2 separate regions of the Homo sapiens genome follow, and region 2 is linked to region 1. The links are contacts of gene promoters, found by promoter capture Hi-C in human tissues and cell types (Jung and others, 2019). All regions are on one chromosome and are shown on one strand. The core of a region is centred on a gene start or on the middle of the fragment in contact, and the rest is flanking DNA. Distances in the headings are between cores, read along the strand shown. Region 1 holds the start of ADAMTS9 (ADAM metallopeptidase with thrombospondin type 1 motif 9). Region 2 overlaps ADAMTS9-AS2 (ADAMTS9 antisense RNA 2).

Region 1 (3,250 bases), core at 302-2,801:
TTTTACATATCCATTATGAAATTCCAGTAATAAGACGATGGTAACATTATCAATTTGGGTTAACAATTATTTAGCAAATTCGTCTTGCCAAGTCATTTTTACCCTTCACCAGAAGAAATATATGTATTAGTATCTCAAGAATAGTTGACATTGCTAGCATATTGCGATTTGGTTCCTGGTGTTGGCAATCTTTGGTATTTCTAGTCCTGAGTGCTAACCTACCACGCAACAGAACCTCAACCCCCGTTCTAGGATACTTGGGCAAATATATATTTATTAGTCATATATTTATATATTTTTAACGATATTGTCATGTCTTTCCTCTTGAAATTATCTTGAAATTCTATCTTCCTGAGGGCTGGTTAAAGAAAAGGCGCCACTGAACCACCCAAGATTGAACAATTCACACACACACACACACACACACACACACACACACACACGAAGGTGTAGCTTGAAGCGCCTGCTTTCAGTCTTTCCCAGTCTTTCCAAGCATCTCTCAGGCTGAAAGCAAGCGGAAGTGATTGAGAAATCCCTCCAGGGACTGGTGCCTCCCACAGGGATCTACAACTTTACACTCCATCCCCCCTTCCCCTCCCATCTCTAAACCCCCTGGTAGTGAGGGGCGCCAGAGTCCCCGCCCCTTCTTGCTGCCAAAATTTGTTCTTAACCTTTTTTGGGGCAGGGGACCTACAGAATGCTATGGACCCTCCATGAATGGTGACAGAGGTTGGTGGAAAGCACAGCTTAAATATTTTGCGAAATTTTCAAGAGACCACGTATTAGAAACACACTCCGACCTGCAGGATTAAGAACCCCATTTCTAAAACTCTTGACTTGGGGTGATTAAATCGAGAGCGGAGCTCAGGTGCCAAATCTCTTCCCGAATGAAAAAGTGTAGGAAGGGAAGGCGCTCCGGCGCTGGGCCACTTTCACTTGTAAGAAACCAAAAGATGGGGACTGGTGGCAAGAGATGGGGACGGAAGAGAAAGGAAAGGAAAAGGAGAAATGTGAGAAACAGACAGGGACACGGTGGGGCGGGGAGAAGACAGACATCACAGGGGAAAATGGGGAGAAGGGACAGAGTCCGAGAGGCACAGCAGCAGAGAGACAAGGGGGAGGAGGAAAAAGAGACTCGGAAGGGAGGAGAGAGAGGAGAGGAGAGGAAAAAGACGAGAGGGGAAGTGGCTGCACGCGCGCCAGGAAAGGGAGAGAACTTTCCCTGCTTTCCCTCCCCGGGGCAGGGAATCTCAGAAAACCCCACTTCAGCGAGGTGGCGGGGACCAGGAACAGCTGCCCCGGCGCTGGTGACGCCTCTGGCCTCCGCCTCTTGCAGCCGGCAGGGCCTCCGGCTGCGAGTCCCGCACGGGCCGGCCGAGGAGGGGACATGGTCTGGAAGGAGGCGGTCCCCGTTCGTCTCGCTTTCTCCTCCCCTCTCCTCCTCTTAGAGGCGTGCACCGGGGGCATTTGAGAGGCTGTGGACCCGCGGCCCCCCCGCCTCCGCCCCCCCAGCCCCCCATTCAAGAAGCCGCTCAGCTATCCCGGCCAGCACAGGGCGCCCGGCGCGCCTCGGAGCGCAAGTTCCTCGCCTTCTCCTGCCCGCTCGCTGGGCATTATGCGGCCAAGCAGCCGAGCCCCAGTCCTCCTCCTCCTCCTGCTCCTCCGGCTCCTCCTGCGGCCCGAGCGGCTCAGCTCTCGGCAGGCGGCGGCGTTGCTCAGCCGAGCGCAGACGGGACCCTCGCAGCGAGACCTCAGCGACTCCTAAAGTCAAAAGTTGGCGGCGGGCGCCGGGCTCCGCGCGCTCTCCACGGCCGCTGCCTCGCGTCGCCGCCGCAGCCAAGGAGGGCAGGAGGGAGGGGGGTGGGGGCAGCGGAGGGAGGGGTGGGAAGCACCATGCAGTTTGTATCCTGGGCCACACTGCTAACGCTCCTGGTGCGGGACCTGGCCGAGATGGGGAGCCCAGACGCCGCGGCGGCCGTGCGCAAGGACAGGCTGCACCCGAGGCAAGGTAACCAGGCTCCGGCCCCCGGGACCCCGCCGGCCCCGACGCCGCCTCCCGGTCCTCGCTCCTGGGCAGGGGCACCCCGCAGCGGAGGCTTCTCTCCTTTTCCTAGAAAGAATTATCTCCCGCTTTGCAGCCTCTCCCTTCTTTGGGTCATCCCCAACCAATTGCTAGGGAGGGACACTATGGAAACGAATTTAGGCAACCCCCCCCTACCTTGCTGTTGCCAGATATATCCCCATCCCCACTCCCACGCCGCAAACTAAAGTAACTTAGTAATTGGGGGCACCAGATAGCGTCATGTTTTATTTTATTCAGGTTATTTATCAATATCTGAAATCATATATATTTTGACTTGTTAATTGTCTGGCTCGGAATAGTGTATCCTCAGCACCTAGCACAGGTCCTGTTACTGGCACATAGTAGGTGCTCAGCAAATATTTGTCCACTGATTAAGGGTGAAGGGATTGACTCGAATGGGCTGGAAAATAAGGTCAGAACAAAGTCCCCACCTTCGTTTTAAATTAAAGCTTAAGGAAAAATGAATTATTGGTTCATATACCTCTGCTTCTCTCCGCAGTGAAATTATTAGAGACCCTGAGCGAATACGAAATCGTGTCTCCCATCCGAGTGAACGCTCTCGGAGAACCCTTTCCCACGAACGTCCACTTCAAAAGAACGCGACGGAGCATTAACTCTGCCACTGACCCCTGGCCTGCCTTCGCCTCCTCCTCTTCCTCCTCTACCTCCTCCCAGGCGCATTACCGCCTCTCTGCCTTCGGCCAGCAGTTTCTATTTAATCTCACCGCCAATGCCGGATTTATCGCTCCACTGTTCACTGTCACCCTCCTCGGGACGCCCGGGGTGAATCAGACCAAGTTTTATTCCGAAGAGGAAGCGGAACTCAAGCACTGTTTCTACAAAGGCTATGTCAATACCAACTCCGAGCACACGGCCGTCATCAGCCTCTGCTCAGGAATGGTAAGTGGGCGCGCGCCACCTCCTCTCCCCTTCCGCCTCCTCGCCCGCTTCTAGAAGACTTAATTGTCCTCTAAGCCTAGAGACCCTCACTGTGGCGAGGCTCCGCTCCTCTCCGGCGTTAAATATCAGCTAGAAACTCGTATGGTTTGGGTAGCTAGCTCTGTGCGTGCGAGTACACTGGCGTGGAGCGCACACACCCGCCCCCAGGGGCTTCTGGATGTTTCAGAGCTTTCTGGAGTTTGGACTCGGTTCAGCGGCGCGTTGCCC
Region 2 (3,250 bases), core at 246-2,745, 100 kb before region 1:
ATGCCAAACTCGAATCCAATGGGATGGCACCAATTTGTACTCCTACCAGTAGCGAATATGAAATCCTGTGGTTCTCTATCCTTTCCCATACGTGGCATTGTCAGCCTTTTTTACATTTGGGCCCCTCAAGTATCTATAAAATGGTATCTCATCTAATCTTGATTTGTATTTTCCTGGTCACTAATAATACTAAAAATTTCTTCATGCATCTGTTGCATACATGTGTTTATCTCTTCTGTGAAATGCCTACTGCTGTTTTGTGCCCATTTTTCTTTTGGCTTGTTTGTGCTACTCTTACTGATTTTTAGTCACTTTAACATATTTTGATTCTAATTATTTGTAGATTGTGTGTAGCTAGATATTGCAGATTATCTTATTGCAGTCTGCAATTTACCTTTCAGTATCTTTAAGTTTTCGTAATGAATAAAAGTTCTTACTATATACATTTATCAATCTTTTCTCTTATAGTCAACTGTTCTTTGTGTCTCCCTAAAGAAATATTTCCCGACTAGTATTGGTTTTCTTTTTATAAAAGAGTAATATAGCATTTGCTTTAAAACTACATTTGAGTAAAAATGAGACATTTTAAGGAAAAACTAAAATGCTCCAAATTATACAGATTATATAGCACAATTCATAATAGTGATGTGTAAATGATTGAAGTTTGGGAGACATTAACCATGTTCTCATAAATAGTATAAATTTATATTGAATGAATGAGTTCAGTTATTCATTCAGTAATTCAATTAACATATGTTGCAAATGATTCTCTCAGAGTTTCTATGTTTGAGACCCCAGCTGGATCCTCTAGAAATGTTTGCTAAAACTATTTGAAGAAACTCATCTAAGAGGGGTGTGTATGTGTGTGTGTGTGTGTGTGTCTGTGAACTGTGGGTATGTATAGAAGATACAAAAGTAGTAGAAGAGAAGCAAAGGCTATATGAGAGCTAGGTGAAACCTTAAGGATGCTTGTTTTATGGTACATATGTGAAAACCAAACCTAGACTTATCCAAGTTCAGGAACAGGTTGCACCAGAGTGGGATTAGAGTATTGCTTAGGCATTGACTCCCAGCACCTCCCCTGGTGAACTTCAGCCATAAGGATATGCTTCTCAGAGTGAGCAGTAAGTCTTTGCATTTATCAGCACTGAAGGCTTAGTTTGCATGTTTTTTTTTCCTTCTCTTTCCATATCAAAAAATATGCAATTCCTAGTCCTTTGCATTAAACTCCATACCTCACATATGACATTCAACAATACCAAAGTAGACTTTTCCATAATACGGCAGTGAGTGAAATTACCCAGCTCCTTAACTCATGAAGTAGGTTGCGGTGGAGGTTTCTGTATTTGAGCTGCTTTTGAACTAGAACCTACCGCTGTCCACGCTTCCTTAAGGTGTTAGGCACATCATAGGCATTCAGCCAGAACTTGCTGGAATGAACTAAAATACTCTGTGGAAACAGTCAAACTAATAAGAACATTCACCTTCCAAGTTGTTTAAACACATGGCTTATTTTTGAAAGACAAAAAAAATGTGTAAAAGAAACTAAAAAATAGGAATGATCTCAGTTGATCCTCATGGTGCTAGGGAAATGGTGTTTTTGGCAGGCTGTCATGTGATTAGATTGGGCCATTTTTCCCCTTTTTCTAAAATTATATTTTCGAGACATCTTGGTACTGGCATTTCTTTACTGACTCATTTGAAAGAGACATACATATATTGTAAACATTATGTCTAGAGCTAAAGAAAGGAAAGAAATAGAATTAAATGCTTCTCTATCTTAAAAGCTACCCATGACCTCAAGTCCACCCCAAATGGACCTACCTGTCTGTTTCTTTTTCTCTCTTTAGCTCTTACGCAGGACAAGGCGGGACACAGCAACATGGTCATTTTGATGTAAAATTGTAATGTAAAATGCTTTTTTCAATCTACTTTTTACCTAAAATATGAGAATAACCAAACTCTCTGAGGCTCATTTTGTGACTCACCCACCCTGTACCCATTGATCCTACCCTCTTCCTTTGAGGGCAAATGTAAGACCCAAGGCAGAGGCAACAGGAAGTTGGGTCTGAGGGATGGAGTGAGGATGTCTGTTTTTTTCCTCACTTTGATAATATTTTCAATATGAAAGTTTAACAATGTATTTTTTAATTTTAAAATTTATTACATTTTATGGCTGGATACAGTGGGTCATGCATGTAATCCTAGCACTTTGGGGGTGAGATTGGAGGGTCGCTTGAGCCAGGAGTTTGAGACCAACCTGGGCAACATGGTGAAACCTTGTCTCTGCAAAAAGATACAAAACATTAGCCAGGTGTGGTGGAGTACACCTGTAGGCCCAGCTACTCAGGAGGCTGAGGTGGGAGGATCACCTGAGCCCAGGGAGGTCAAGCCTGCAGTGAGCTGGAATTGCACCACTGCACTCCAGCCTGGGTGTCAAAGACCTGGTCTTCAAAAAAAAAATTATAACATTTAATAATGTAAAAGTCTATATACTCACATCCATGTAATATACAGAATATTGTTATATACACCCTGTGTACCCATCATCCAGCTTAAGTAATAAAACTTTTCCAGTCCTTCTGCAGCTGCCCATATCAATCCCCCTCTCCTCTTATTTATTTCTTCAAAAATGTTTATTTGAGTGACTATTATATATCAAGTAATGTTCTAGGAACTGGAAAACAGTAACATTAAAAATAAAACAGACAAGAAGCCCCGAACTCATGGAGCTCTTATGAAAGGAAACTACTATTCTGAATTTTGGGTTCACCATTCTCTTTTTCTTCCTCATACTTTTCCTATGTGTATAAGAATTTCTAAACAATTTATGTCACTTTACTATCATACTGCATGAGTTCTTCTAAGTTTTGTTTCTTTCACTTAATATTTTTGTGCATGAAGTTCGAATTCATTAATGTTCAGTTTTCATGGTCTTCCATTATGTGAATATTTCAGTTTATCCATTTTCCTGTTTATGGATATTTGGATTATCTTTAGTTTCACTATTGCAAACAATGCTCCTATGAAATGGTATCAACCATTTGAATACAGGTAGCCCTTGACCAACACAGGAGTCAGGGGCACCACCCCCATCACAGTAAAAAATGCAGGCATAACTTTTGATTTCCTTAAAACTTCACTACTAATAGCCTGCGGTTGGCCAGAAGAAACCTTACCAATATCGTAAACAGTCAATTAACTTACAAATACACTAGTATCGACATATATTTTATGCATTCAGGACATA

The links. Contacts are between HindIII fragments. The study calls those that stand out against the background at their distance.
Region 2: a fragment that was not itself captured here is called in contact with the fragment with the promoter of ADAMTS9 in region 1 in 2 of the 25 tissues and cell types used here (aorta and small bowel).

What each region holds. Positions count from the first base shown.
Region 1 is chr3:64,686,301-64,689,550 of GRCh38, reverse strand. ADAMTS9 (ADAM metallopeptidase with thrombospondin type 1 motif 9) reads left to right here and starts at 1,551. Exons shown (of 40, transcript NM_182920.2): 1 at 1,551-2,008; 2 at 2,583-2,983. The coding sequence starts at 1,894. The region is part of intron 1 of ADAMTS9-AS2 (ADAMTS9 antisense RNA 2); the gene reads right to left. The HindIII fragment of the contact is 6,670 bases long and covers 1-3,250 here.
Region 2 is chr3:64,787,481-64,790,730 of GRCh38, reverse strand. The region is part of intron 1 of ADAMTS9-AS2 (ADAMTS9 antisense RNA 2); the gene reads right to left. Among named protein-coding and RNA genes, the nearest start is that of ADAMTS9, 100 kb to the right of the region's middle. The HindIII fragment of the contact is 3,432 bases long and covers 1-3,211 here.